Regions from separate parts of the Homo sapiens genome. Here all the other regions are linked to region 5. Evidence: promoter capture Hi-C in human tissues and cell types (Jung and others, 2019). All regions are on one chromosome and are shown on one strand. The core of a region is centred on a gene start or on the middle of the fragment in contact, and the rest is flanking DNA. Distances in the headings are between cores, read along the strand shown. Region 1 has its middle 100 kb from the start of LINC01427. Region 2 has its middle 140 kb from the start of LINC01747. Region 3 has its middle 75 kb from the start of LINC01747. Region 4 overlaps LOC105372564 (a long non-coding RNA gene). Region 5 holds the start of NXT1 (nuclear transport factor 2 like export factor 1).

Evidence for each region. The method cuts DNA at HindIII sites, captures the fragments that hold promoters and counts their contacts. A contact is called where the count stands out against the background at its distance.
Region 1: a fragment that was not itself captured here is called in contact with the fragment with the promoter of NXT1 in region 5 in 1 of the 25 tissues and cell types used here (lymphoblastoid cells).
Region 2: a fragment that was not itself captured here is called in contact with the fragment with the promoter of NXT1 in region 5 in 1 of the 25 tissues and cell types used here (H1 embryonic stem cells).
Region 3: a fragment that was not itself captured here is called in contact with the fragment with the promoter of NXT1 in region 5 in 1 of the 25 tissues and cell types used here (thymus).
Region 4: a contact is called between a fragment that was not itself captured here and the fragment with the promoter of NXT1 in region 5, in 1 of the 25 tissues and cell types used here (H1 embryonic stem cells).

The regions. Positions count from the first base shown.
Region 1 is chr20:22,381,830-22,385,125 of GRCh38, reverse strand. No RefSeq gene overlaps it. Among named protein-coding and RNA genes, the nearest start is that of LINC01427, 100 kb to the right of the region's middle. The HindIII fragment of the contact is 8,346 bases long and covers 1-3,296 here.
Region 2 is chr20:22,825,972-22,829,145 of GRCh38, reverse strand. No RefSeq gene overlaps it. Among named protein-coding and RNA genes, the nearest start is that of LINC01747, 140 kb to the right of the region's middle. The HindIII fragment of the contact is 7,062 bases long and covers 1-3,174 here.
Region 3 is chr20:22,758,869-22,762,340 of GRCh38, reverse strand. No RefSeq gene overlaps it. Among named protein-coding and RNA genes, the nearest start is that of LINC01747, 75 kb to the right of the region's middle. The HindIII fragment of the contact is 6,241 bases long and covers 1-3,472 here.
Region 4 is chr20:22,512,957-22,516,140 of GRCh38, reverse strand. The region is part of intron 2 of LOC105372564 (a long non-coding RNA gene); the gene reads left to right. Among named protein-coding and RNA genes, the nearest start is that of LINC00261, 64 kb to the left of the region's middle. RefSeq lists an enhancer at 2,895-3,184. The HindIII fragment of the contact is 4,166 bases long and covers 1-3,184 here.
Region 5 is chr20:23,349,224-23,352,558 of GRCh38, reverse strand. It overlaps NXT1 (nuclear transport factor 2 like export factor 1), which reads right to left and starts at 1,768. Exons shown (of 2, transcript NM_013248.3): 1 at 1,498-1,768. NXT1-AS1 (NXT1 antisense RNA 1) reads left to right here and starts at 1,092. Exons shown (of 3, transcript XR_937384.2): 1 at 1,092-1,229. RefSeq lists enhancers at 917-966, 1,023-1,894, 1,833-2,127, 2,047-2,186, 1,895-2,767 and silencers at 1,457-1,726, 2,347-2,476. The HindIII fragment of the contact is 17,754 bases long and covers 1-3,335 here.

The DNA.
Region 1 (3,296 bases), core at 764-3,263, 970 kb after region 5:
GGAACTCCCTCCACTAAGCCTGCACTCCCTTGGTGACCCCATGGGCCAGTCCTGTGCTGTCTGTTGGTGCCTCTCAGTGCCAGGAGGATCCCTGGCTGCCTGGACCTGGTACCCAGAAAGTTCTTGGTGAATGCTTTTGGAATGAATGAATGAATGAATGTGGTGTCTCCCTCTCATTACCAACTGGAGTTTAGTTTTTCCATAGAAAGTGTTTCACATGGGAGTTAGACTTGGACACTCACTCATTCGCCCCTCGTATCTGGGTGGGGGGTGGGCAAGAAAGTTCCTGTAACCCACTGGGGCAGGACAAGGGAGGGGATTTGGGCCACATACCCCCGAAACCAAGGACACCGCCTACCTGGGAAAGGAGGGTCTGGGTAGACCTCACATCCAGAAAGTGGAAATGGGAAAGAGAGCACCTGAGGGGTGGGTTGGGGTGGGGAGAAAGAGTAGAGCTGTGTCTCTCGCTGGACAGAGTCAAATGAGACCCAAGTCATCCAGCCAGGAAGCGCATTCTCAGCCCGATCTCAAGATCTGACATGATGACCTGAACAATTTTAGAGACCAGCTGCTGCCAGACAGCAGACACTCCGATTGCTTCTGCATCCAGAAAGTACCTCGGTGATCTGAAAAATGGGTGGATTAATAAAGAAAGAGGTAGAGGCATTTTAAAGGATTTTAGGTTTCAGGGGATGGCTTGGAATGAATCAGCACAGTGATGAGGTTGGCATTTCGGGGAGAGTGGGGTTGTGGGAAGGGGGCAGGTGACCTGAGCCAGGCCCTTAAGTAACATGGTCTAGTTGGGGGTTGCTTAGCTACAGGGGGAAGGTGCTTGAGAGAGACCCCTCCCTTAAGGAGAGGACCTCCCAACCCCTCCCTACCCAAGAGGGCCCTTGGGGTGAGAGGAGGGCCGAGAGCAATTTACTCAAGTATTGTCTTCATGGTCTGTCATCCTCCCCTTTCCCTACCAACTCCCCCAAAATAAGTCCAGTGGGTGGTTTCTATTCAGTGAAGCATCCAGATAGTCCTGGTATGCAGTTGGCACTCAAATCCCACTGAATGAATGAATGAATCAATGAACAGGGTCAGGTTAGGCTGCCCTGCACAGATTCTAATCTTGTGATCCCTTTTGGTTTCTAAGCAATAAAACACTCTGGGGACATACACGTGTATACAGCACACACATGCTTTCTCAGATTTCTCTAGAAATATTAGTTTTGCCTATTAGTCCCAAGAAATGAAATGACAAGTTATATATATGTCAAAAAAGGGAAGCACATATTGCATTTATGTGAATATTACCATATATAAGTTCAGGCACCACTGGGAGACTTAACATTGAGTATTCCCATTAAACAGACTTGGAGAAACAAAACACACACATACACACACACACACACACTCCTTCACACTCACAGTTCTGGTGAAAATTGTTGCTTCACCCCACTTTCATGCCTTTAAAATGTGATTTTCTGATGCATCAAAAATTCATGGGAGGACAGGAGAATAAGAAAGCCCCTCTGGGATTTTAACTTTAACTTTGACAAACTATCTCAGTACGATGAGGTCCTTTTCATAAACCAGGGCAAACTTGGACCTTGCTGTTCTGTTTCATGGCAATATACGGGAAGCAAATGCCACTTGGTAACCAAAAGGTATTAATAGATCTCAAAATACATGGACTTGCACTGTCGCTACACCCTGGAGATCTGGTTAACAGCATTGAATGGGTGTGGGATTTGAGGCTAAATACAGCATTTCCAAAGTAGCTGACATTTCCAAATGTGGCAAACCACAAAAACATTCCTTGTGTGAAGAGCATTTTTCTACAACCGGAACAGGGGCAACTGAATAATTTTAGTCATTTTACCAACCCAATGCACCCGTCACAAAAGCTCAGGTGAAGGAATGCACAGCTATTTTGCAATGATGGTCTGCAATGCTGCCTTGTGTGTTCCCCAGCTGACTCAGTTGTACCATCTAGACACAGCCAGCCTATATGGAGCTGGGGTTTTCACCACAATTCACTAAAATAATGGGCGACAGGCATGAGTGACTGGGGCAGGACTCCTTGCCTTTCACATGGGTCAGCCTCTCTGACGAGTGAGCCCAGGTGCACTGTCTCCTACTCGTTTATTAAAAGAAAGAAAGAGGATATAGTATTTCAGCTTCTTACAGATTTAAAACGGAAGTGATTCAAGTCACAAGAAAAGTACAAACACGTTGCTTAACCGAGTGAGTATATTCTGAGAAATGCATTGTTAGGCTATTTTGCTGTTGTGTGAACATCATGGAGTGTACTTGCACAAATCTAGATGGTAGAACCTGCTACACCCCCAGGCTATGTGGCATTAGCCTATTGCTCCTGGACTACACACTGGGGCAGCACGTTGCTGTACCAAATACTGTAGGCAGTTGTAACACAACGGTAAGTATTTGTGTATCTAAACATAGCTAATATAGGAAAGCTACCCTAAAAATACAATATTATAATCTTATGGGACCACTATTTGATATGCAGTCTATCTTGACTAAACTGTTGTCATGTGGCACATGACCTGTCATCTCTTTTAACAGTGTATATTGACATATTATAGACTCTTAACAAGGCTTGAACATTTCTTCCAGGGGAAACACCTGTTTGGAGCCTTTCACTTTAAATTACAGGCAACTACAGTGAGAGTTCTAGCTTTACCACTTTTTTTTGAGAGGAGGTTCTGGCATTAAAAGTTTATTTCTATCCATGTTATTCAAATATAGCGCACTAACTTTATATTATACAAATAAGTCAGAGAGGAAGAAGGGAAGAGAGCAATTAAAGAGTTATGAATACATTTTTTATTGCAGAAAAGGCCTGAGCCTCCTGGGATTTGAAGGCACACAGAGGATAAATAGGCCCCACCCTGTGTTCTTTGAGAGGTTAACAATATTTAATCCAGAACTTTTTGGAATACATACAGGTGTTCTTTGAAAAAGAGTTTAGCAGTCAAGTGAATTTGAGAGAGGGTGGTTTAATTGAAGTTAAACATTACTTTACTGCAGGGCTTTTCAGAGCCTTTAATCTGCTAAATGCTTGTGACATTCCAAGTGGGGCTGTGAGTGAGGACTGCCTTCGAAAATTTCACACAAGGCACTGCAAGGTATGGGCCCTAGGAAGGGGTGAGGAGGCAAAAGGACGAGGAGGCTGGATAGGGGCCTGAATAGGGGCCTGCTTATGGGACTGTATTTCCCCCAAACATTGAACTATAAAATGCTTTTTGATGGAAATAGTAATAACGTAACAGAGAACACACAGG
Region 2 (3,174 bases), core at 489-2,988, 520 kb after region 5:
GGCTGGGCTGTCTAGGGGCTTGGCTCTGCCCAACATGTCTCTCACCTTTCTCCTGGGATCAGCAGCTAGGCTGGCATGTTCTCATGGCCATGGCAAAGGTTCAGGGAGGAGAGTAGAAATACCTCATTCTATTGTCCCAAGCAAGTCATATAACTACACCCAATGGCAAGAAGTATGGGAAATATGCCCCAATTCAAGTGGGAAGTACATCAAAGTCACATGGCGAAGGCCATAGAGGGTGAAGAACAAGGACAATAATACAATATACCCCAGTCCTTGTGGGAGAGTAAATGGTAGACTGACCTACAAATCAAGCTGCTGAGAGCAAGAGAGAGGAATAACACTCTTCAGGCTCAGAAGGTCTCAGCCCCTTGAAAAGTCTCTACTGAAATCCTAGACATTTAATTCTGGTAGAAGAATCCAGGTATCAAGAGGGCAAAAAACAGACAGCAGGGGATGCCTCGTTCCCCACCAGGTGGAGGTAAAGGGGATCTCAAAAACTAGCAGATAACAGGTTCACATTTCCTCAGGTATGCCGCGGGTTAGTGTTGCCCAGGAACAAAGGTCTACGTGCTGCTTCCTCCAGAGCCACTGATCTCTAGCAGGTGGGTAAATGCTTGATCCAAGACTTCAGTGTGTTGGGGGCGCTAACTTCTGAGATAGGTTTTCTCCTTGGTTGCTCTGCAGTTTGCTAGGGATTTCATTCTGCCTGAGAACAGGAGTTGAGCCATCCCCAGGAGCACTGAGCCCTGACTCCAGATCTCCTCCTACCAATTTCTATATTCAACCAACATTTATAGCACTGTCCGTGTGCCAGGTATAGAAGGTGGGAAGGCAGAGTTCCCTATTAGAGAAGAATGCTAGGAGAAGACTGCTCCCACACAGTGCATGGTACAATCTCAGAGGTGTGTGCACAGGTCAGAGGAGTGAGCAGATAACTGCTGCGGGATTCAAAAGGGTTTCCCAGACAAGGTGAATTGCATCTTGAGAGATGATAGAAGCATTCCAAGGAGATGAGGGAGGGTGCTCTACATACATTCCACAGCATTCCCTGTGCACACAGATAGGGCGTGTCCCCACATGATGTGTTGGGAAAGGTGAGGGCACCTCGATCAGCAGAACATAGAGTGCACAGGCACCAGCCTTCTGCAGATGACTGAGTGGTGGCAGGTCACACAGGGCCCTTATGCTGCAGGATGGGGATCTGGACTGTCTTCTCCAAGCCATGGAAAGTCACTGAAGGAGGATATTGGTAACTATAACTTTTTCAAGCCTAAAACCCAAGGGTGGGCCCTGGCATGCAATGGAGTGAGGAAAGCTGACCTCACATTATCCTAAAACTGGGATTCCACTGTAGCAGGCTGGGTCACTGACTTAAAAACAGGTCCCTGGTTTTTAGGGATAGCAAGGAAGTCCCTGTGACATCATTTCTTTAAGAATCTATATGCAACTTTTCCAAGAACTAAACTTCTGCTTTTCTCCAGGAATGGGGCTGGCTGGGTGCTCTCTGCCAGTGGCTATAATTCTCACTATAACCCTATGAGGCCAATATGATTATTCATAACCATTTTATAGACAAGTAAACTGAGACAGACTGTCAAGTCACTGCTCCCCTGATAAGCAGATCATAATTGCCAGGTTGGGGTAGTCGGGTGGAGACTTGTCCGCAAGTTCAATGCAACCTGCAGAGCCGTCTTCGCTGAAGCTCATGATGGCCACTTCCTCCTCCCACAGGGCTTCCTCCTTGAGGGTCCTAAAGCTTCTTCCAGTCTCCAGAAGCCAGCAGAATTATGCTCTTCTCACCAGAAGGATTATTTCCAATTAACGTTACATTAGAATTAATGCACAATAAAATGCTTATCCATGTTGAAAAGGATACGCTGTACGACAAACCCATTTCTCTGAAGGACCCCAAGGTGTAAAGCATCACCAGCCTTCTGCAAGGGGCTGGTTACTGACTTGGGAAATATGGGACATGTGTGAGAATGTGCTCACTCATCTGGTCTGAGTTGTTAAAAGCTGCCTCCAAGTGTCCTGTAAGAAAGGAGGACTTGTTTACTGAGCCCAGGAGCCCTGGCTCCAGCCGTCCCTGTCCAATGTGGGAGTGGATGGTAGCTCTGACACCTCCATGGGATCCGGGGCCACACCCACCAAGGTTCACTTGGAGGAACAGGCTCATGTCTTCAGAGAGCTCAATGTGCCTGCAGCCTACTTTGCTTGCATCTCTTTCCTCGGTCAAGCCCTTTTCTGAGGGGAGAGCGGAAAGCCAGGGCGTCCCACCTGGCCTGGATGTAAACCACCTTGGAGTGGATGAATGAGGTTTTTCTTCAACCCAAACCATAGGGAGCTCATGGCTTTTGTTCTTATCTCAGCCTCCAGAAAGTTAAAGGAGCATATCTACCTGCTCTGCCTTGGTGGTGAACCTCCACCTCCCATCTCATGTGGCCCAGGAGGGCCCCTCTCTGAGGGACTGTGGCATTTCAGGAAAGGTTAATTGAGCTGAAAATGAGGTGGAATGCTCTTTTCCAGGCTGTACTCACTTGTGCCTCCCACTTGCCAGGACAGGCCCAGAAGGAAACCATAAAATGACTCCATCCTGTCAGAAATTTCAACCGTGGGCTGGAGGTCATTCATTCCTCGTGATTGAAGAATGGCTTTGAGCCTGCTCATAAAGAATCTTAAAAAAATAAAATCCAAGGTCAGGTGCAGTGGCTCATGCCTGTAATCTCAGCATATTGGGAGGCCGAGGCAGGAGGATCACTTGAGGCCAGGAGTTTGAGACCAGCCTAGGCAACATGGTAAAACCCTGTCTCTACCAAAAAATACAAAAATTAGCTGGGCATGATGGTATGCACCTATAGTCCCAGCTACTCGAGAGGCTGAGGTGGGAGGATCACTTGAGCCTGGAGGTCAAGGCTGCAGTGAGCCTTGATCGCTTCACTGCACTCCAGCCTGGGTGACAGAGCAAGACCTTGTCTCAAAAGAAAACAAAAACTCAGCCTCAAACAGCCCCACTGTAGTGCCTTCCAGTGGAAATACTCGCTGATACCCCTCCATTTCCCCTGTACATATGACCCGAACACATCTCTGCTTCTCACATCCACAGTGAGGGCAGACAGCAAGAGGCCCAGGGCCCTGACAGAAACCCTCCCAACATACCCTTTCAATGAGAGC
Region 3 (3,472 bases), core at 825-3,324, 590 kb after region 5:
TCTCTGTCTCTCTCTGTCTCTGTCTCTCTCTCTCTCTGTCTCTCTCTGTCTCTATGTCTCTCTGTCTCTGTCTCTATGTTTCTCTCTGTCTCTGTGTCTCTCTCTTTCTGTCTCTGTGTGTCTCTCTGTCTCTATATCTCTCTCTCTGTTTCTCCCTATGTCTCCCTCTCTCTGTGTCTCTCTCTGTCTCTATGTCTCTCTCTCTTTCTCTCGGACTCTCTGTCTCTGTTTCTTTGTCTCTGTCTCTCTCTCTTTAACCACTTTATTGAGATACCATTCACCCTCTCAACGTGTACAGTCCTGTGGTTGTTTATGTTTGCAGATAGGTCAGCCCCATCTCTTGCAGCTTTCCTGACCACCCTGACTTCTCACTTTCCCTTTCCCCATCCAGGTGAACTCGGGGCCTGGCACTGTGTCTTGCCCTGTGGTTCCGGTGGGAAATCTGCTACACCAGGAATCAGGAGACCAAACTCCACTACCAACTGCCTGGTGACACTTGAGTTCTCTTGTGCTGCAGTTTGCACTGTCAAATGTGTAAAAGAGTCAAACTGGCTCAGATGAAATCAAATGGGTTAAAGAATGTGAAGATTCTGGCCAGGCACAGTGGCTCATGCCTGTAATCCCAGCACTTTGGGAGGCAGAGGCGGGCGGATCACCTGAGGTCGAGAGTTCGAGACCAGCCTAGACAAAATGGAGAAACCTCGTCTCTACTAAAAATACAAAATTAGCCAGGCATGGTGGTGCCTGCTTATAATCCTAGCTACTCAGGAGGCTGAGGCAGGAGAATCACTTGAACCAACCTGGCAGGCAGAGGTTAGGGTGAGCCGAGATCGCACCATTGCACTCCAAAACTCCATCTTAAAAAAAAAAAAAAAAAAAAAAAAAAAGAATGTGAAGGTTCTTTGAGGCATAGTAAACCTTATACAAACATAATATATATTTTCCTATATTATGTTTTAATATTCAGTCCTGATTATTACAGGGGGTTGGCGATCACCTTTGAGGTAAAAGGAAACAGTGCTCCAAGGCAGCTTCAAGACACAATATGAGAAAAGAATGCAAAATATTTCACTAACATTTGTTTTATAATTAAGAGCTGAAATGATAATACTTTTGATACAACAGGTTAAGTAAAATCTATCAATGAAGTAAATTTTACCATTTTCCCTTTGTTAAATGTGGCTATTAGATATTTTAAAATGGTACATGTGGCTGGGGTCATATTTTTACCAGGTGGCCCTGCGCTAGGGTAACTGTTTTGAACTTGAGACCACAGAGTGAAACCAGCTATGTCCTTTGCCTTCTTTCTTTCCTGCCTCCATGCAAAGTGGCTTCTTTGGCTAAGCATCTGGGGAGGGGAGAGAGGCTGGCATTCCAGCGTGTGTTAGGGTCAGAGGACCTGGTGAACAATGCTCTGACAACACGACATCTTCACAGACACTGCATGAGAGGAAAGCTGCATTTTCTTTGGATGATGCTGCGTCCCAGAGCGAATGCCCCCTGCTTGTGAATTCTTTGAAGTTGAGGCTGGCTGGCCAGGGCAACTGTGACCTTGGCTTTCTAGAAGGTTCTAGAGTACAGCCTCCCTTCAGCTCACCCCTATGGGTGGAAACCATGAAGGAGGCCACCAGCCTTTGGCAGTGGGCTGCCCCTGGATCCCCACTGCTGACTGTGGCCTGTGTGGGCCTCTCTTTCAGCTGCTCTGTCACTGACAGGCCTGGGAGCTCTGCACAACCAGCTGAAACCATGGGACTGGTTATTGACTGAGGCTTATTAATGCTCCTGCTTCCCACCAAGCCAGGGCTTCCCAGATGGGAAAGAACGGCTTGCCAGGGCAGAAGGAGGAGAGTGTGGTGTGGCACCAAGGGGGAGAATGAACTACTTTCGCTTGCTTTGATTCCAGCCAACCCAGTCCCTCTGGGAGTCCTATTCCCAGAGAAAATATTTCTCAGGAAAGGGTTTCTCAGGAAAGACCCATCCGAGACCTCATTCTTGCAGCAGAAGTTCACTGCAGAGCTGCAGGCCTAGCAGTGACAGGGGTACATAGGAAAGCCATTGGTAGGGATTTAAGAGGAGTGGCTAAAGCAAAATCAGTCCTATGAATGGAGCCAACAGCCCTGGTGGTCGCTTGGTGTCCATCTCTCCTCTTTGACCCCAAGAGGTATGTGGAAGATACCAGTATTTCTTCAGCTTTTACATAGCATCACCTCATTTAATCCTTACAACGGAACCATGTAGTGGAGCTGACACTGATGAGCTGAATCCCCTTGTCCCATCCCCTCTCACCATGTTTCCTATATGTAAAGGTTGAAGGTAGCCGTCAGTTGCAGAGAAAGTGTGTGGACCTTCCTAACTTGTCCTTCATGGAAAGTTTACCACTTTCCTTATAGCATGGAGGATGGGGGTCAGCTCTTCCCATATTTGGACGCTCATGGGTCTCCACCTAATATCCTACCACAACTGCCTATTGGGCACCATGTTCACTATTTGGGTGATGGGTTCAATGGAAGCCCAAATTCCAGCATTATACAATACACCCATGTAACACACCTGCACATGCACCCCCTGAATCTAAAAACAAAAACAGAAACCCTCAAGTGTCTGCAGAAAAGCTCTGTAAACTCAAAATGCCAAGCAGGTATGGATGAAAACAAGCTTCAAGCATCTTCGAATTAAAAAAAAAAAAAAAATGAGCTCATGTCCTTTGCAGGGACATAGATGAAGCTGGAAGCCATCATTCTTATCAAATTAACACAGGAACAAAAAACCAAACACCACATATTCTTACTCATAAGTGGGAGTTGAGCAATTACAACACATGAACACAGGGAGGGGAACATCATACACGGGGGCCTGTTGGGGGGTGGGGGGCAAGGGGAGGGAGAGCATTAGGACAAATACCTAATGCATGCAGGGCTTAAAGCCTAGAAGACAGGTTGATAGGTTCAGCAAACTACCATGGCACATGTATACCTATGTAACAAACCTGTACATTCTGCACATGTATCTCAGAACTTAAAGTTAAAATATGTGTATATATATATATATTTTAAATCCTTCCCCAGGGAAATGACCCAGCCCCATGGTGGTGTGACGAGAGGATTCTCAGAGGCTCTGGACCCCAGCCTGACCCTCATTGGCTTTGTAACTTTGGGAAAATCACTTACCCTTCTTAACCTTGAGTTTCCTCATTTGTAAAACTGTCTTTAGGAACCACAACATTTAAAGAATAAACCCATGAGCACTGTGGAAACTCAAGCGTGCTATGTAAATGTAAGCTTTTATTATGCATGGTCAAGTTTTTATGAACTGCGAAAGAAAAATTTGGCTGAACAGCCCTTCCTTGTTCTCAGCCAATTTAAGGAGCCAGGACAACTCACTGCTTTATGAGAAACCACCCTCATCCTTCAACTGGGTTTGAATTTTTCTAACACTTGGACTCATTTTGTTGAGCTCTTCAAGCAGCAGATCA
Region 4 (3,184 bases), core at 625-3,124, 840 kb after region 5:
TCCATCTCTATGTCCATGTGGGCCCATTGTTTAGCTCCCACTTACAAGTGAGGACATGCAGTATTTGATTTCCTGTTTCTGAGTTATTTAACTCAGAATAATGGTCTCCAGCTCCATTCATGCTGCTGCAAAAGACATGATTTCATTCTTAAAATGGCACTTTATGAGGTTCGCTTTTCCTGGCAAGATGAACTAACAAAATGGAGATGTTGGATTCTTTTATTAAACCCAAATGTGGTGAGCCACAGATGGAAGGTAGAAGGTTGCTGATTCTCGAAAAAGAATCTGGGAAATGATAGCCTAGGGTCAGGAGGGCCAGGTACCAAAAGGGAGGCTGGCTGGGGTTGTGGAGTTATGTGCTTTTCCTTCCCTGAACTTCCCTCAAGAAAATAAGAGCTTCCCCATCACCTCAGCAAAGCATCAGTCCCCCGGTGTTGAACCAGCTGGTACTCTGGCAGCCCTAAAGCACTCTCCTCCCGAGCTCCCACTTAAGCAAGGTGGGGATGATTTTAAGGCAGGCAGCTGTAGAAAAAGAGTAGGGCTCTGGGAGCTCTCCAGAGCTCCTCTGTCACCTGGCACAGAGGGTGGGTCACTCAGGGGAGGTCCAGCCCACAATAAACATGGAAGCCACGCACCCCGATGTCATCCCCCAGGCTCATCCTCACCACGAGGCAGGCAAGGCCTGCACCTGGGCCTTTGCTCCTTCTCCCAGGGATGTCAGACCAGCCAAGGCAGCCGGTGTTTCCACATGCATGTGGGCTCAGGAGGATATGAAAGGGTCAGGGCCAGCCCAATAACTGAGCCACACACACTAGATGAGATGGTAGGGGAGTTCAGGCAGGGCATGAATTAAAGGAAGCTTAATAAATATTCTCAAACAGATCAGGAAAAACAAAACAAGAACACACAGCCACAAACAGACTTTAATTGTTGGAATAAAGAGCATAATTGAGGGACTGAATAGTAGGGTGGATTCAGTGGAAGAACAAATCAGGAAGGACTCAGCAAGATGAAGAGATTGAGACGGAAAGTAATAGTTAAGAACATGGCTCCCTATAACAGGAGTCCCAGAAAGAGGAAAAAAATAAACAGGGGGTGAAACACACACACAATTTCAGAATGTAAGGTCTTATAGATATAATAATAGTAGGAGAGATGTCAATAAATCTTTTAAAAAAACACTGACAAAGGAGACAAAAATTACCAATAATTTGGAATATTTGAGAAGCATTATAACAGTTACTTAATGTTATATTGTCCAATACAGTAGCCGATAGCTACATAACTCTTGAGCACTTGAAGTGTAGCTAATGCAAGAAAATTTTAAGATTTTATTTAATTTTAATTAATTTAAATTTTAAAACCTAATACTTAATTCAGGTATTGAAAAACTTTTAAGTATGTTTAGAACAATCTGCTCTTTCAATTGTAAATTGAAATCTAAATACAGATCAAGTGTATCCAATTTTAGTATTTGTATTGAAATGCACTGAAAGAGCTAAATCCACCCCAGGTTTCTAACACTCAATACAGAAAAATAATGTAAAGCATCTTGTTAATATTTTTATATTGATTATATGTTCAAATTGTTGTTTTGTATATATTGTCTTAAATAATATTATTAAAATTAATTTCACCTGTGCATTTTCACTTTTTAATATGGCTTCTAGAAAATATAAAATTATATATGTGGCTGGCATTATATTTCTTTTGGACAACACTGATCTAATAGATGTACATAACTTACACCCACAGAGAATATTCATTTTAATTCCCATGGAACAAAGAAAACTTTTGTAAATGCCAAGTAATCAATACATACACAATGTGTTGATTATAATGAAATAAAGTTAAAAAATCAGTAATGGCAATAAAACCACTTCGACCATCTCTTGGACACATAAAACATTATAATGTATGGTATATAACCATTGGGGTTTAGAGGAAATTTAAAAGATATTACAAAATACTTGGAACTGGATAAGAACAAAAGTGTCAAATGTCAAACTTTATGACCCATAACTCTCAAGTTGCACTTAAAGTTTTACATAATTTTGAATACACAAATAGCAAACAAGACACCGAAAGACCACATACCTAAGGACATAACTAAACATATTAGAAAAAGAAAAAGAAAAATGACAGAATAAAACCAAAGCAAAGAAAAAGATATAAAGTGAGTTTAAAAAAATCAATGAAATTGCCAAAAATCCCCATTAAAATGTGATTCTTTGAAAAATGAGATGGCAAAAGTGTCTGTGAAACTCTACACGCCAATACATTTAGACCCAGATGGACAACGGCTTAGGAAAAATAGCAGCCTTGGACTAGAGGAATCAAAGGAAAGCTGCCGACATGGAGTCACAAACAGCACTCTCTCTCCCAATAGAAGCTTCTAGACAGGTTCCAAACCCAAACTAGGAAACCCGTTCCAGGAGGTTCCTAAGTGAGTGAGTGATTTGGGAGCCAGAACACACAGGGAATCCAGGGGAAAGTAGTAAAATAAAATAAAACAAGAAGGGCCTTGGGTGAGCACACTGCACCATGGCCTGAGTAGTAGTATTATTTCAATTATTTGCACCTGAGGAGACGTACAGTTGCTTTCAATGTCCAGAATTTGCAGGTGAACCTCTCAGACCTTTGCTTTTCTCCTTTATGGGTTTCTTTTCCCTGGGACACATTGTCAGCCCTTAGCTGCTCACTAAAGCCTCCTGATTTGAGATCTATATGACAAATGCCTGATGCTAAGCAGAGATGCTGAGGCCTGGAGCCAGGAAGGCGAATTAGTTTCCTAGTTCTAAAGGTAGGGGTGTGTGGTGCATGCATGAGAGAGAGAGAGAGAGAGAAACAAGAGGGAGAGAGGGAGAGAGAGAGAGAAACAAGAGGGAGAGAAGGAGAGAGAGAGGGAAAGAGAGAGGGAGAGAGGGAGAGAGGCAGAGAGAGAGGGAGAGAGGGAGAGAGGCAGAGAGAGAGGGAGAGAGGGAGAGAGGGAGAGAGAGAGAGAAAAGAGAGAGAGAGGGAGAGAGGGAGAGTATATAAAAATTCTCTTGCTCTCTTTGCTTCTGTAGATGTAGTTAACAAGTCCACTTTTAGGGCTTAATCTGCTGGGCACACTTTCTTGATTTTATAGCTAGAAATGATCTAATTTAGGCAGAGGGGGCTGCCTGAAGTAAATACAGCACTG
Region 5 (3,335 bases), core at 519-3,018:
AGTGAACAGTTTTTTTTCATTTCAAAAAAAAGACTTTTTTTTTTATAATGATTAGCTTATGAAATAAATAAAACATTCCACATAGGGCTGGAAAGAGCCAGGTACTTATAACGGCTGCAAAGATGGTGCATTGCCTCTGGTAAAGGGCTGGCTGGGAGGGAAGCTGTCCTAAAAATGAGCAGTTAAGAGCCAATTTCAGACGTGGGTCTTTCCACGCCCTCCACAGACCTCATAGTTAAGCCTCAACTGTACTCTGGACTGAGTACAGTGGTCCCTCGGTATCTGTGAGGAACTGGATTCAGGACCCCCGAGGATACCAACACCTGCAGATGCTCAAGTCCCTGATAAAATGGTGTACTGTTTGATATAACCTATGCGCAGCATCCTCCTATATACCTTCATCATCTGTAGGTAACTTATAATACCTAATACAATGTAGATGGGATGTAAATAGTTGTTATACTGTATAGTTTAGGAAATAATGACAAGAAAAAAAAAGCCTCTACATGTTCAGTACAAACGCATTTTTCTTTTTCTGAAGAATATTTTTGATTTGAGGTTGGTTGAATCCACCCCACGCGGAACCCACGACTAAGAAGCGCTGTGTTTGCTAAGGGCTTCACACAAATTACCTCATTTAAATGTTACCACAAATGGATGAAAAAGGTATTACTATAACAATTTTACAAATGAGAAAAGGGAAACCTAGGGCTGGATCAAAGTAACGACGGTTAAGTACACTCCTGATCTATCGTTTACAAGACTAGACTGAGGGCTGAAATTTTGTCAATACAACGCTGTCCTTGTACTCGCGTAAGCAAGTCTCCATGAGCACAACTCCAGGACTGCTAGAGTGGGAATTTTCTCCCAGGGACCCCATTTCTCTTTGGCTGGAATTCCCGATCTCCACCTCACTCCTCCTCCCTCCATGGCACCAGTCCCCCCATCATCTCAGAAATGCCCCTCTTCTCCGCCCCTGGCTGTCTTTCCAAACACAATCTAACAACTGGCCACGCCCCCACACACCATAGAAGGACCATCTCCACTTACGGTTTTCAGCTACCTATGAGGTCGTCAGTCCCGCTGTCTGTGTCAAATCAGAAAAAGAACCTGACCGTGAGGACTAGAGTAAGAGGCTGTGAAGACTGCCGCCTCCTCGCACGACCCACACCGTCGAGTGTCCGGAGATGGACGGGAAAAGCTACCACAGTGGCATGGCCTTATTTCCTGTGAGTCGCCTTTAATTCAAACCTAGACAGACGCACGCCCTGCCCGGCCCTCCTCAGACCCGAGAGCTGCGCTGTGAGGGGACGCGCCTCCCCTCGTTGATGAGAATTCGCTGCCACGCTTTTTGCACAGGCGAGAGCCTCACCGCGGCGGCAACTCTACCACGTGGACAAAGGCACAGCCGTGTCTCATTCTCGACAATGGAGGAGGGCGTGGGGTATGCACTAGGGGCTGTCTCGGGGGTCAGACCGCCGGGGGACGGCAACGTACCTGCGCGGCGACGTCCAGGGTCAGCGCGGGCCGCGGCCCCCACGGTCGGGACGCCCCCCGCGTGGGACGCAGTTCCACTGAGGGGCCGGCCGCGGAGGTCACAAGGTGGGCCCACCGAAGCCTCTGGTAGGGGCACGGGAAGAGCCGCCTTTCTCTCCTCCTCCTCCTTCTTGGAGGCTTACTCTGGGTCACCGGGGCCCCAGAGCCGGGGGACTTTCCGGCGCAGTTCCGCGGCTTCCCGCGCGCGGCCAGCCGGTCTCCACGCAGACGCGAGCGCCCCGGCGCCGCCCTCTCCCGCATTCCCGTGACGGGCAGCGAAGTCAGCCAGTGGGACTGCGGGCCGGAAGGCTAACTCCGCCCATGTGTGGCTTATAAGAGGCGGTAGCTTCCGGGAGTGTCACTTTCCCAGAAATCCCGGCAAATCCGCCCTAGAGTTTTCGTTGGTCCAACCGGGCCACAGACTCCGGCCCGTCTGGTTAGGTGGGATGCCTGATTGGGCCAAACCTCTTAGGTCCCGCACCTAGAGCGGGGAGTAGCGTCTGCTTTTTTTTCCGCTGAGCGGAGGCCGCTAGGCTGGAGAGGGAGGGGAAGGTGTGTGGGGTCGGGTGAGATGCTTTCCCCTCGTCCCGCATGCGCCTGTATTGGAGTGATTTCAGTTAAAAGTCTCGTGAAACGTCACCAGTGATGTAGTCACGGCCAGCAGCAGCTGCCTGACCCCGCCGAGGCCTTCCGTCTGGCAACATGTGGGGCGCCGCAATGCTTGAGGCCACGGCGAGGGCAACGCCGGCCGCGCCCCGTGGAAACCGCGTGGCGGAGTGCTTGAGCCGATCGCGCTCTTTAGGAGTTAGGCCACTTAGAGGCGACATCTTGGTGGACACGGAGGAAGCCAGTTTTAGTCAGATGGGAAAAGTAGCTAAAAGTGGGAGGAGACTGGGGCGAGGGTGGGACGTGGGGGAGGCGGGGGCGTGACGGCGGCTCTCCACTGCCCTGAGGCTTGAGGGGCCCCGGGAAACCCGGGCCCGGCTGGGGTTGGGACTCTGTTCTTCCGCGTTCATAGCTACGATTCAGCTGTTCTGGAATGAGAACTGGATTTTTACTGAACTTTACGAACAGGCTCAACAGGATGTAACCATTCAGTGTGGAGGCATGAGAAACTATAGCTTGTAAATTAAAAGAAAAACCTCATTTCTTTAGACAACATTTTCAGCTCCATCTGCTGGTCTGAGGCTGAATAATTAATTGAAAAGCCAGGAGAGAAATGGGGCTAGATGAAGTGAGGTAGTTTAACCTGTGCTTTCTTGGCGTCCCGTCGGCTCCCTTTGCTTGCATTCCTAAGAGAATCTTGGTCTCAGATTTCAGGACAAGTGGAAAACAGTTGGGCTATTTAGTATAGGCCACCCCTTCCCCCCCGCACCCTCTCCCCCCACACACTTCAGTTAAGTAGGTGGAAAGTTTGGATTATTAAAAAGACACGTTGGAGGCTGAGCAGAGAGTGTGAAAGAGCATTTTCGGGGCTTTGTGAACTAACATGGCCTTTTGAACCCCAAGGCAGTGATACTTGGATTGATCTAAATCAGCGTGGATGGAATGGAAGTGGGAATGCGTTGATTTACTGCACGCTCAGTAGTTTGGATGCTGTGCTGCTTTTGTTTCCTGTATAATAAGCCCCTTTAATTTGTTTCACATAACTTATTGGGGGAGGTACCATTATTTCTGATTTTATAGACAAGGAGGCTGACAAAGAACCATCCTGGTGTCACAGGGTCGATTCATACCTAGAAAAGTATGAAGATTCATACCTAGAAAAATTAGAAGAACATTAATGCAGCTCCAAGGCC